2 separate regions of the Homo sapiens genome follow, and region 2 is linked to region 1. Evidence: promoter capture Hi-C in human tissues and cell types (Jung and others, 2019). All regions are on one chromosome and are shown on one strand. The core of a region is centred on a gene start or on the middle of the fragment in contact, and the rest is flanking DNA. Distances in the headings are between cores, read along the strand shown. Region 1 holds the start of SOX5 (SRY-box transcription factor 5). Region 2 overlaps LINC00477 (long intergenic non-protein coding RNA 477).

Region 1 (7,489 bases), core at 2,874-5,373:
GCTGCATTCCAAACCAATGTCTTAGCTCAGTTAGCTTGCAAATTATTGACACGGTAATTAAAATCTATATTCAGTTGTAGACATTGTCTCCTCTACAATGTAGTAGTAAATAAAATATAAATAAAATTATCAAAGCCTATGAGAACATCCTGAAAACGTAAAATCAAACTTACAGGTTTACAGTTGCCATTAGGTGACAGAATGTGAACAGATAACTTTTCTGTGATTCACACCTAGAGTGTGCCTGCTAACCTGAATGTACTTATCACTCATGAGCACAACGGATTTTTTTGTTGTTGTTGTTAAGGTTTTTAATTAAGCAAAATATATCTGTGTCATAAATATTTCATGACTATGGTCAAACTTTAGGTAACTAAAATACCACTAATGTCAGAGAGTAGTTTTCTGCAAATGTCTAGCAGTAGCTTTTCATGGGAATTTTACGAATTAGTTTGTAACAGCACCTGATATATATTTCTTTCTTCAGAAAAACACTGAAAAGTGTCCTAATAAGAAAAAAATTATTTAGTCAGCATGACCAGAAATAAATTTGATGGAAATGTGAAGTAAATAAGTTAATTTTTATTGCAGAAGGTTTTACTATTGTAGTGTTCCTTTCAACATGTAGAAAATCTGCTGTCTGTTGTCTGCACCAATTTGGGAGAAGCAATCAAATAGGTGATACTAACAACCTAATTTGCATAATCCCACTACTTTCAATCCCAACTTTTTTTCTCCTTTCTAGACATTATCAGAACTGTCTTCTTAAGCAATCGTCTTACACTTGCTATTTAAGTTTCTAACATAAAGCAATTAGAAACTGTAACGGGAAGCTTAGACACAAAACTATTATGTTACAACCAAAGAGGACAGATAAAATTAAAAGGAAAGAAATAGAATATTGAGAAACTATCAAAAATGGACATTTTTACTTATCATGAACAAACTAATATTGACATTTAAGGCAAATATTTTCTTTTCATCCTTGAAATATCAAAAAGTAGGTGACATTCTCAAAGGAAAACCTTAAGTCACAATTTTTCATTATCTACTTTCAGTTAAATATATAAATTTATTGACTTCTTTTAAAAATGTGGGGAGACTTCGGGCGTTCATTCTAATGATGCTATTACTCACATTTAGACCATGTTGCCAGCTATGTTTCCTTTAAACGGTAAAATGTAGAAGACTTTCCTTACAAATAATTTTTTAGAATATATACACCCATTTGCTTCCCACCTTGGAGTTGTGTTTTTCAGTAATCATAATCAGTTTATCACAAGAATGCTTGAAAATAAAAATATTTCAAGTTCTTTACCTTTTAGAATCACTGTTCTATTTGCACTACCTCCTGCATATTTTTAACAGACAATGAAATTGTTACTACTTCTTAACTATTTAACAACTGCTTATTAGTCTGAGAGTACTGACCATGTTCATTTCTAGGGATGATAATATAGACATATACAAATCTAAATCCAAATTTTGATCCTGATATTTAAGTTCTGAATATTCCTTAAAGTTCAAATAGTCTACAGGCTGGGAAGAATAAAAGATGGACAAGACTCTACCAATGAAATTAGTAAAAATGATCACATAAAACTTTTACAGTACATGAACCCTAAGCAATTTATTATGTCCTCTAGATCAAAGTTCTCTATTTCACAAAGAAATTTAGAAGTCTTCTTTTAGATTTCTAAGTTTAAGTGGGAAATTCATCTATAGCAAGTGACCCAATAGAATAAAAATTAACAGTCAATAGAAATGACCTATTTATTCAATGAAAGTTGCAAATAGTTGAAAAGGCAAAAAATCTAATTATATGTGATAGTTTAGTTACATCATAAATACCTCCTTTGAAGAATATAAATATTCAATATTGTGTCTACATGATACACTGTATCATGCATGGGTGCCTATAGAGACACTCACCCGTACAAATTCAATGTAAACAAATAGTAATGATTTGCTGAGATCTTTGTATGTATTACCAATTACAACCACAGGGGAAATTATTAAGGAACGTTATATTGTGTGACATTTTTCAGAATTATTTTAGCTACTAATATTTCTAAATATGATAGTCATACTAACAACCCTATTGATTATCACTTGCTTATTTAATTAGCTAGTTAGAAAAGCATGCCTCTGGGTGAAAAAAAAAAATGAAATTCCCACCAGGAGGAAAAAAGATGTTAACAGATTTGAGCATCAGAATAGGAAAGGGAAAAGTTTAGTTTAAAAAGAGATAATTGAAAAAAAAATACAAATAAAGTTCACAGCAGGAAGCTTGCCTATATAGAGAAATAGGCTACAGCCTGTTAATATGTAACTACCTTTTTATAAGTACAATCTGTTAACAGGCTTACAAATCAGCCTCAGAGTTGTATTTGCAAAAAGTATAATTAGAATTAAAGAATATTATCATTTAAGTGCTACTCTGTGCATTCTAGAAAACTTAACTGTGTTAAATTAGCAAATCGCTACATTAGGTAATGTACAGTATGTTCCACTATGAATAACTTCAACATCTACCTATGATATAAGGCTATATTTGCAAATAAAAGCTCACTAATTAAAGAGTTAATATATAGAAGTGAAAATTTTAATTCAAAACTGTTAAGAAAGCTCAAACATTCGCTGGAATTATCTAGTAAAGATGCAATTTAATTATTAAAAAAAAAAACACAGAAGAAATCAAAGAAAGATGACAGCACCGAAGTATATGTGTTGGCTATTTTACTTTCTTCCCTGATTTGATACTGGCTTTTCTAATATGTGACCACATTCAAGCGTTACTTTATCCTCAATACTCTTTTTCTCTTCCATTGCTTCACTTCTAGAATGTTTTAATCTTTGTCCTTTCTTTTTTCGTCTTTTCATATCAAATTCAGTCGTTTGAGCGATGAACAGCTTGACTTAGCATATTTTTAACCAGCTGGTCTAGCACCTAGCTTGCATTGCATAGTCAGATACAACAAATGTTTATACAGAAGGTAGCTTTCATGAAAATGAAAAAAAGCCTGGGTATCATGCATCCTGGCTTTTTTTAGCTTTTTTTTTTTTAATTCACCATACAGAATACAAAGTTTGAATTCTTTTTAATGGCAAACAAAATTCTATTTATAGTTCAAAAAAATGAACTTATGCTGGGATAAGAACTCAAATTTAAAAATTGCAATGTGTACTTATAGGAACATTAAGAGGGCTAAAATTCTTTCAAAGCCCTGCTTTACTTGCAACAACATCAAATAAAAGGATGCTGCAGATATTTCTCTAAATAGGAACAACTTAATTACAAATACACTATTCCCATCATAGCAAAAGGGGAAAATACAGTAAATTAAAATTCAGTCAAGACAGCTAACACAAAAAGTGGCCACTAAAACTTAGAAAGGGAACAGCTCCATTTATCCCCTTTTCGCCCCTATTTTTGACACTTAGGGAGTAATCTAATATAGCGATGATGTTAAATTTTCTTTGGGGGGAAAAAACGCTCTCTTATATCAACAAAAGGTCATGTGCTTTACTGAGCAGCTTCCAAAGTTTTACGGAAGGATCAAATAGGAACTTATAGCCTCCGTTTAAAGCACCACTAAAACCTTCTGTCACCCTAGAAATTACATGAGACAGAGATGCTGAAAATGGTAACATTCTGCACAAAAGCGTTTTTAAAAGGTGGGGAGAAAACAATCAATGAAGGAAGAAAGTAAGAGAGTGAATGAGAAAGACAGAAGCAGCGAGTTGGGGAGAGAGAGAGAGATGCTTAAGGTTCATTTAATTTGCTGTTATAGGACGCAACCTAAAAACATTAGCAGAAATCTCGGAGACTTTGCAAATCAGTTCAGTTTGGTCCGGGCAATCACAACAAAAAATCAGCTAACAAGATTGCAGAAGCCCTAGCTAAAGGCTTCTCTAACAAACACGTTTTGGGGGAGCATCTTCCAATGATTCAGAGACTACTGTAAAATGGGAGAGTTGTACTTCAATATATTAGGGGGAAAAAACTGTACTCACCTTTCAAACTCCTGAGGTAAATCAGGGTCAGTAAGCATGCTGGAAAAGCACAATTTCCCTTTGTCACAGCAGCCACCTATGATCGTCTCCAACTGAACCTGTCAAGTGAGTCCAAACCTTCTAAACCAATTGATTTTCTCTCTGTCTCTTCCCCCCCTCCCTCCCTCCCTCTCTCTCTCTCTCTCTCTCCCTCTCTCTCTCTGTCTCTCTCTCTCTCTCTCTCTCTCTCTTTCTCCCCCCCTCCTTCCCCTCCTCTCTCTCCTAGGACTCCTTGACCAGTCTCTTAAAGGGGTAGTGCACTTCCAGCAGCGGAGTCTGGCTGCTCCCCCCTCCGCGGAGCCACACGCTCCGGCTGCAAGGCTCTAGACAACCTCAGGGTGCCTGTCCTTTCCTTTTAATTCTCTCTTCTAGACATCACTGAATGTGAGAAGTCAACTCATTTAACACGTCTCCCATACTCTGTCTTCTAAATCATAAAACTCACACACACACATACACACGCAGAACAGTATGATTTTGTAAAACGTATTTGCTGCTGATTAAAAACCTAGTCTATATAATAACAGAAGCTCGATTAAACTGCATTTATTAACTAATTAAGCAAAAAATTTAATGTTAGTAATAGCATTTTTACACAAAGAATTGTTATTCCTTCTCACCCTTTTCTAGGCTCTCTCCGTTCACACACGGAAATACACGCACACACACACACACACACTCACACACACACAACAATCAGGCATTGTTCTGAGGGAAGAAAAGCAACTTTGACAGATTGAAATATAGCAGAGGCCCCTTCAAGGAAACCTGTAAACAACTTGTCACTCACTCTGTCGGTCTCACTGTTAGCTCGTGCTTTCCGCAAAGTGGTGCGAACGTCCTGGCAACCCGACCAAAGTTTCCTCAGCTCTAAACTCCATAAAACACGATGTGCGATGTGGAGGGGAATAGGTATCCACATGCCAAAATAACATACACGAGCGAACAAAAACCCAAAACGAAATCAAAACATAAAAACAAAAAGACGGTACTAACAAACTGTCCTGTTTGGGATCGCTGGGGAGGTCAGGAGTAGGAAGCGCCCCCCTGGCTGTGGATCTCTTTAATTTCCTCTGCCCAGGCAGCCACAGATAACAAGGTGGACAAACTATGGCTTTACAGATTCTAAGCTGGCTGGCAAGGCACAGCCTCCATAGCAGTTCCAATTATCTAGATAAAAATCTGGCAGCCGAGAAAGGTAATCAGGTAATGTACCTTTGACACGAAATGACAGAGGCACATACACACAGAGAGAGAGACACTTACACAGACATGCATGCAGAGATGGTGGCTGCCCCGTGCACCGCAGCATCTGGTCAGGGAGTAAGCACACACTTACCAACAGGAGATAGTGTGCATTCTTCACACACGCATGCACACACACACACACACACACACACACTCACTCACGCACGCTCTCCACTCCTACTGGGAGGGTTCATTCTGCACAAAAGGCTACATTACAGAGCCCGCCCCAATAAGGGAAAGAGAGGAAAAAAAAGCCTTCCATTGTTGAGAGGGCAGGTCAGTTGATTAGATTTTCTGTGGAGAATTCCACGAGGAAATTCCCTTCAAAGCCGAAGTGATTAACTGGGGGCTATTCTGGAAATGGAGCAGACAATGGCTCAATAGTCTGTACAGCCAATGTCCAGGCTGGCACTGAACTCACTTAAAAAAAAAATAAAAGCCAGACTCCCTGTTCTTTTCCACACATTCCTCCCCCCCAACCCCCTCCACTCCTTCCAACTTCCCCTCCCAATTCCTTTTATTTTGCAGCTGGACAACATTAAGGGCCTTTAAAACCACAAGGGTTGACCCCACGGCAGTTTGATTAGGTCCCACTTTTTTTTCTGGAGACAGGCAAACAGTAAGTTTACTTTTTTAGACATTCACAGTGATACATCATACACATATTCCAAAGAGAAAAAAATCAATTATGAACTTATATTAGTAAATTTATTTTTCATTCAAAGCTTATAAATTTTTAGACAAGTTGATAATAACTTAATATTTAATTCTATCATCAGGAGATGTTCTAAAAATATATATATACACACACACACACTACAAAATCAATGTGGAATAAGATTTAAGCATGTCACTATGGAGTTAAGACACTAACAAAACATAGAACTATGACCCACCCTGAAAAAGCTGTTAACAAGGGATGTGGCAAAAATGACTTGATGCTGACATGATTTTCACTTTCAGCAGTTGGGGAAGGGGGGAAGAATATTACTCACTATTCTTTCTTGTTGTTAGTCTCAAATTATTTTTTGTTACAGCAACAACCTACTCCCACACAGAAAAATGAAAAAATTGTTGCATTTATTTTAAATCTCTATTTTTTCAGCCCTTAAGGGACCTACAATCTAATATACTCTAATGGATAATGTATACAAAAATTATATTTTTCTTCATTTGTTAATGGTTGTTATGAGAATTAGGGTATAGTAGCTGCATAGCTATATACACTTTTAAAAATATTTAAAATTTTTTTCCTAACTAGGAAAAATCTTGCTTATCTTATATCAATAGAGAAAAAAAGTGAAGAAGGAGGATGGGTGAGTTACAGGGAGCCATGGGAGTGGAGTCAGGAAGAGGAGGAGGCGGGAGGAGAGGACGCAGAGAGAGCACAAGGAGACATAGTGGCAGCATAAAGATAGAAACAAAGATAATGGCCATAAGGCAGGATGCTGAGATCCGTATGGTCCCAGCTGCTGTCTTGCTACAGCTACTACCTCTGGTTGTTTCTTTGAAACTCTAATCTAGAAGGTCACCAGAGCAGGTAAGAAAGAGTATGAGTGTTTGAGGCCAACTATAGTATAAAGAAAAGATACTCATATTAGAATCTTCCTTATATTTGATTTTGATTTTATTGGCACTTAATATATGTATACATCTGTACATATGCCAAATAAACACAAAGAATATAGAAGAGAATGTTAAATGGTTTGAAAGTTAGTTTTTTGACTTCAATATATTCTGCAAACATTACTGTAGCCATTCAAAAGACAAATTATTTCTTGCACAATCATCTATGCTGAAGGAGTTGAAATAGACGAGGAACTAGACAGAAAATTTGCCAAATAATGATCATCCTAATAATGATAATTTGAACTAATGGAACTCTAAGATCATAAGGAATTTTGTTCACATAAATTAGCTCATGGATCTTACAGAGTAGAAAGGGGTAGGTATGTATTTCCCTAATTTTCCCACTGTTTAACTTGGGCAAACAGAATTTAAAGTCATTCAACTGGTTAGTAGCCCATTTGTTGCTTGAAGCCACTTCTATCTATTTCACTTATGACACCATAATGCAGAATAAACTGATCCTCCAGAATTTATAGTTAGATGAAAATCCCAAGATGGTACTCATACTTTAAGTGACCTGAAAGGCTTTCAGGTAATTGTTATAAAAAATAAAATT
Region 2 (6,878 bases), core at 2,654-5,153, 620 kb after region 1:
TATATAGAGGAGGTTTATATGCAATGAGATACCTTGATTTTATTTATAAAGAAAAGAGGAATGATTCATATGCTTCGCTGCTTCAAAACTGGTAACAGAACTAATTGTCAAGCAGGGAAATAATATTTTAAGCTTGGGTCCCAGTAGGGTTTAGGTATTTGGGTCTGTGAACTCATGATAACTCCTGTTTCTGTTACTTCTTTATAATTTTTGGTATCAAATATAATTTTGGTGGTACCAAATTTTTGCAACATGGTATCACCAATTGCATTATATGATATGTGAAATATGGTGAACAAATGAAAGCTCAAGAAAAGCACATAAAACAAAGAGGGTGTTTAAAAATATCACTTAAACAAATGTCCTTCTTATTTGAATCTCAGAAAATTATTTGAAGAGCAAATACATTTTTAGTCTCTAAGTATCTGGGACTTCTAACCCCTACTTTCTTATGATGCTCATCAAATTCAGAACTTCATTCATGGGTTGATTTTTTAAAAAAGAATAAATTAAGTGTTTCCATTCAGACTAAACTGTTTTGCACGCACAAAATGGCTACTATCCAGGTAGTTTTGCTCCAGGACAGAGTAATCAATTGGATCACTACTCCACTGACCAGATTTGGTCATGAACCACTTCTATTTCAGCCATCTCTTTGACCATGTGACAGGTCCAGTAAATTTTCAGCTATATTTAATATTTTTTACCTAAGCAAGTAAATGATCAAACTCTTATATAATAAAAAATATTTGAATCCTGCTGGCAGCTTCTGAATGCTGAGTGTTTACCTGGACATAGGGGCTAACAATGCACTTTTCTGCCTTCCTACGGCAGGAAATTATAACATAGAAAGCCTTGTAAATTTTCCAATCCAAAAAAAAAAAAAACTGAAGGAAATAGTGACAAGATTTATCCAAAACAAGATGAGGGGCAAGGGACATAAATGATAGGGACATAGACAATACCATAAATGAGTATGGTATTGTCTGTGGAAATAAAAATTGCTTTAAGTTGGTTATCCAATAATATACATAGCTGAAAGATCTAAGAATGTTGAATTGGCTTGAAAGAAAATGAGAAGAAATCCTCAAAGTAACATCTAATAAAGGCTATTTTTGCAAGGTCTAGGTCTACATGCACAAAACACAAGAGAATCTGGATTACACAGAAAAACAACAAAACTGACTAAACCATTGGAAATAGAACCAACAGGGAAGGAGGAGACAGATGAAGCGTGATTGAATGACTTCTCTGCAAATCGTTTGAGATAAAGGTATTAACCAGCTGTTCTCCAACTTCAAAGAGAATAGAACTAGACATAATGCAGAGCCTGGAATAGAAGGTAGAAGACCCGGAGATGAATTCCAGCTTATTGGAAATAAGAGTTATGGATCTTTGTTACAGTTTTAAATTAAAATAACTGTGAAAATGAGACAAAAGGATAAGAGATCAGGGGAATAAAATGGAGCCACAAAAGGTACATCCCACTTTAAAATTCTGTATCCTTATTAACATGATTTATAGAAGACCTAGTTGTGCCAGGGACTGTGCTAGATTTGAGCCACACATTTCACTTCAACCTCTCTAGCAGCCAAAAGGAAGAAAAAGTGTCCATTTCAATATTTACAATTGTTAGGGAGAAGCCCAATTATTCCTGAAACTAAGACCAAACCAGAACATTTTACTGGGGGCCTTCTCAAGGACACTGAGTAACATTAAGACAAACTTTCTATCAGTGAAAACAGTAAAGAGTTTCTGAGGACCATTTCTTAGATTCCTATAAGGAGAGACACTCCTCTATGGGTCTCGCCTGCTGCTGCAGGTCATGCCAGGTAGGCCAAGAATGCAATGACCTGACCACTCTTTACCCAGGCCGTTTCTCAGGGTTATGTTTGCAGTAATCAAACTTGGAGGGATAAGATAATGTCTCCCTCCAAAACAAAGAGTAGATGCTTGCTATAAAAGCATCAGATTCTCCAAGCTTGGCTATTCATCTGCCATGTGATCCCACCGTGTGTATAGCCTGTAATGCTTACCATTCCTTAGCATACCATGTTTCTCTTTCCCTGACAGCAACTCTGGGCCATTCTGTTCAGTCCATTCCTTGGGTGCAGCCCAATCAAAAGTGGGCCTAGGGGATTCAAGTTTTAATTCTGCTAGGATTATCTCTTGGGTTTAACAAGGTCATAGATCATAAGAACGATGACCACCTGGTTTAGTACACTGTTCACTGAGCTCCCCTACATGGCCCACATGGGTCAAAATGGGGAGCATAATGGGTCTCTGTAAGTTTTGTGAAAATTCATTGTCTCATGTGTACCTCTTCCTTCCAGACAAAAAACCTAAGTCTGGGTCAGAGGTGATTAGGGAAAAGGAAAGCTCTAACTGTTGGAGTGGACACATCAGTTTTGTGGCTGTGAAAGAAGAACAGCTCCCACACTTGGAGAGGGAATGGCCCAGACATAGAGAGAGAACACCTCAGACCAGGAAAGGTGCTAGGTGTGAGGTAGGAACAATTAATGCTCTCTTTGTCCCAGTACCACAGCCTTGCAAGTAATCACATGGTCTGCTTGAGGCAAAAAGCTAAAGCCGGCAATATGACACGCTGCTGGTTCATCATCCCCATCTCTATGCTATAAAATCAGAGAAGCTCATGAGGACCTGGCTGGCCCCAAACTGTTCATTCTGCCATCAAGACAAGCTTCAGGCCGGGTGTAATGGCTCATACCTGTAATCCCAGTGGCTTGGGAAGACAAGGTGGGAGAATTGCTTGAGCCCAAGAGATCAACACCAGCCTGGGCAATATAGGGAGACCCTGTCTCTACAAAACAACAACAAAAAAAGTTTTAATTAGGAGGATGTAGAGTCACATGCTTACAGTCTTAGCTACTGCAGGCCTTAGCTGAGGTGGCAGGATCCCTTGAGCCCAGGAGTTCGAGGCTGCAGTGAGCTATGACCATATCGCTGCACTCCAGCCTGGACAACAGAGTGAGACACTGCCTCTAAAAACAAAAGAAAAGAAAGAGAGAAGCTTCAAACATAGACTCCTCTTGAATATGTACAAACACACAGATTGACACAACCTTGTTTCATTCTGGCTGATAAAAACTCATCTGCTTCTCCTGGTGCCCTAGCATCCTTAGGTTATGCCATGTGTAACATCAAGGCTGCAACTAGTTGGTAACACTACTCAGGTGGCTTAAATGAAACAAGGTATTGGTGATCCAAATCAAATTTCACAACACATCCCTGACTGCTGTGACCTGTGTTTTTATGCAAGGGAAAGTGAGCCATGAATGTCTCTCCATTACAAATGAGGATTGTTTTATTGGTAATTCCCTGTAGTTATGGACAACAATACCAAAGATCATTTAAACTTCTGTGAGTAGTAATGGATAATTGACTGAATTTATACTACATCCTGGCTGTCTAACATAAGACATACTGGTCCCCCTAAGATTTACTCAGAGATGGTTGAAACTGGGACCCTCTGAGGCTTGGATGAGGTCTATAGAGACTTCTGGTTGGCCTCATACTACTGCTTAAAGTTTGGTTAATAGAACCCTTTAATAAGTGCTATACAAAACAAATTGAACAGATTTGTTCCCAACCTCTGTAGGTCAAGTTCATCAGAGTGACCAACAAAGTGGTATACTCATAAAAATTCACTGGAAGCTAATCCTGCACAGGATTGAGGGATGAATTGTTTTAAGAAATAGTCCTCCTATAGGCTTTTGCATCCCTGCTCACCTTGTTGGGCCTGCCAAAAATGCAATGCCCCAATTGCTCTTTACCCAGACCATTACTCAGATTGTTTGCAGGCAGCAACCTAGAGGGTAAGTAATGTCTCCCTCCCAGGCAAAAAGCAGACTTGCTTACTGCTTTCCATTCAAATGGTGGATTCTCCAAGCTCAATGTCTCCCCTGAGGAACCAATGCAAGCATAATGATGCTCATGCTGCTTGCTCTGCCATGGGCGATAGTCCTTTGTCTGACTCAGGAATCTCATATGTTCTGTGGCAACATCCATGAAACCATGGTAGGCAGACATATCAGCTTGTAACAGGAGGGTAAGATCAAGTCCCAGTCCCTTAAGAAATGTCATGCCAGAACACAGTCCTGCATCATCAATTACTAGGGTTCCCACCCTCCACCCCAAGTACTTCCTTTGTGTTGGTCCCAGGTACTTTGTAAGCCCCAGAAGTTGTAGTTATTTTTTGCTGTTGTTGTCATCTTATACAAAAGCCATCTGTGAATGATATTTTTAAGGAGTCCTGGAAGTAATTTTTTTTTTTTTACCCTTTCAGCTGGATTGTCTGGCTTACAAGAGAGGTACTACTAATTGCCTACCTAATATCTATTTTCCTCTTTTCATTAAGAGAGTCATGATTTTGTTTGGGTCAATAGTGTGTCCAGCTAACATCCTATGCTTCCAGGTCTCTCCCACAGCTGGAGGTGGCCAAGGGTCACAATTCTTGCCAATGAAAAAGTCTCTAAGTTGGGCTTCTATTAAAGCTCTTCAAAAGGCAAGCAGACTTAGCACATGCTTTTGCCCTTCCCCTTCTTCTTGCCTGAAACATGGGCATAATGTTAGAAGTTAGAGTAGCAATTTCACGGCTAGGAGTGACAAGTGCACGCTAAGGATGGCTCAGAAGGAATAAGGAAGTGACCTGGATTCTAGAAGTGATTAGAAAGTTTCCCAAGACCCATTGACTGCCTACCTCTGGACTTCTCATTTTGGGAGGCAAATAAAACCCTTATTTTTGGGCCAATATTTTGCTGTTTTCTGTTACCTGTAACTGAATGCAGTTATTAAGCTTTATAGATAGATACATATTTTTCTTTCAATATAGCATCTTCCTCATCTTCTGAAAATCTCTATTTTTTAGGGGAGTGGGTTTTCCCACTGCTTTAGTTGTATGGTCCTTTTCTTTCATGTTCTTCCTTGAAGATAGTGATTGGTTGAGGACTGAATATAAGATCTAAACTTGTCTCTTCAATAGTATGGTTCAATAGTATAGTTGCTCACCCCCCAGGGCAAGTGACTGGGAAAGAAGTGGACTCACAAAACAAACTGGCCAATCAGAGTCTTTACTGGTTTTTGTTTGTTTGCTTTTATCTGTAGCTAGGAGAAATAGCTTTTTCTTCCCTCAGGCCCCAAGCTGTGAGGATGTAAGCCCAGGAGCTGCTGTCAGCCATGAATCCAAGTTTATGGAGGCAACCAACCTAAAAGAATGAGTCAAACACACAGAAAGAGAGGGAGAAAAGTTCTGAGGGCATTTGAGCCCATTATTCCAGCTCAAGAGGTCATCTGAGCTGCCTTTCTATTGTTCCTTTTTTGGTTCTTCCCTTAATTTTGATCCACTCTAGTATCTTTCCAATAGATTTCATGAATTTTATTTGACTCCAGTTAGCTTAAGTTCAGTTTTTGCCATATGCTAAAGAATAGTAACTGATATAAAGGGGAAATGAAAAATGATATAAGAACACATAGAGAGAGTACCTAACTCAGACTTGGTGAGAGCAAGGAAGTTTTCTGGAAGAAATTCCATCCATGCTGTGAGATGAAGGATGAACAGGTGTGAGCCAAAGGAAGCAGAGAAAAGGTGAAAGGAAGGAGCACAACTCCGAAACCATGGACCCAAGTACCAGATGTGAACATCGTCTGCTCATTGGTGGAACTGAAAACAGGTTGATTTAGATTACGGAGGCATGAGGAGTGGCAAAGGGACAGGCAGGAGAGTAAGACTAGAAGATAAGTCCTATAGACATCTTTAAAGAAGTTTCTTTACCCTGCAAGTGTAAGCAGGGAAGGAAGGGATGAGATTTGTAATTTCTGAGGATCATTCTGGCTGCAATGTGGAGAATTGGTAGAGAGAAAAATTGAAGGTGTGGGACTGTAAAAAGGCTGCTGCAGTGACACACAGAGAAACGCAGATGGCCTGGAATATGGTGCTATGGCAGTCTCGGTCCTCCAAGAAGCAGATGCTAAGATGGAATTAGATATGCAAGAGATTTGTTGGGAGAAATGCCTGCGAGGGATGTGAGAACAGGTCTAGGCAGGCTGTGATGCAATGTGATACCTAGGAAAGGAGAGAGGGAAGGAAGCAGGATTGGATGGGAAGGGCTTTAGATGGCACTGTGGCTCTGAGAAAGTCTTGTCTGGCTTGGTCAGCATATTATCTGTTCTCACACTGCTACGAGGAACTAACTGAGACTGGATAATTTACAATGGGAAGAGGTTTAATTGACTCACAGTTCTGCAGGCTGTACAAAAAGCATGGCTGGGAGGCCTCAGGAAACTTATAATCATGGCAGAAGGAAAAAGGGAAGCAAGTACATTTTACTATAGCAGAGCAGGAGAAAGAGAGGGCGAAGGAAGAAGTGCTACACACTTTTAAACCATCAGATCTCGTGAGAACTCTCTCACTATCACGAGAACAGCAAAGGGGAAATCCGTCCCCATGATCCAATCACCTCTCACCAGGTCCCTCCCCCAATATTAGGAATTACAATTCAACATGAGATTTGGGTGGGGACACAGAGCCAAACATATCAGTTGGGATTCGAGTATCCTGAATAAAGATTGTTCATAGAAAAGTTCTGTGTTGGGAGTAGAAGGGCTAGCTCTAGTAGCCCCACCATGCTCAGTTATTGTTTGAAAGCAATCCAGAGAGACCAGAGTCTCGGCAGGAATGCATGGTAGATCAGCAGTTTCTACTGCTGGAGGTGATCAGCCAACTATACTCTTTAAAGCAGGTTCTCCCATAACTGCCACACTTGAGGACACAGAAGGTGAGAAAAACAGACCAAATTAAGAGAAATTTAGCCATTCAGTGATCAGAACTTGGTTGAATGAACAAGAGGTTTTTATATGAA

Evidence for each region. Contacts are between HindIII fragments. The study calls those that stand out against the background at their distance.
Region 2: a contact is called between a fragment that was not itself captured here and the fragment with the promoter of SOX5 in region 1, in 2 of the 25 tissues and cell types used here (dorsolateral prefrontal cortex and hippocampus).

What each region holds. Positions count from the first base shown.
Region 1 is chr12:23,945,547-23,953,035 of GRCh38, forward strand. It overlaps SOX5 (SRY-box transcription factor 5), which reads right to left and starts at 4,124. Exons shown (of 15, transcript NM_006940.6): 1 at 4,018-4,124. The coding sequence starts at 4,055. The HindIII fragment of the contact is 5,378 bases long and covers 1,562-6,939 here.
Region 2 is chr12:24,568,656-24,575,533 of GRCh38, forward strand. It overlaps LINC00477 (long intergenic non-protein coding RNA 477), which reads right to left. Exons shown (of 4, transcript NR_029451.2): 2 at 2,879-3,002. Among named protein-coding and RNA genes, the nearest start is that of LINC00477, 12 kb to the right of the region's middle. The HindIII fragment of the contact is 5,695 bases long and covers 1,057-6,751 here.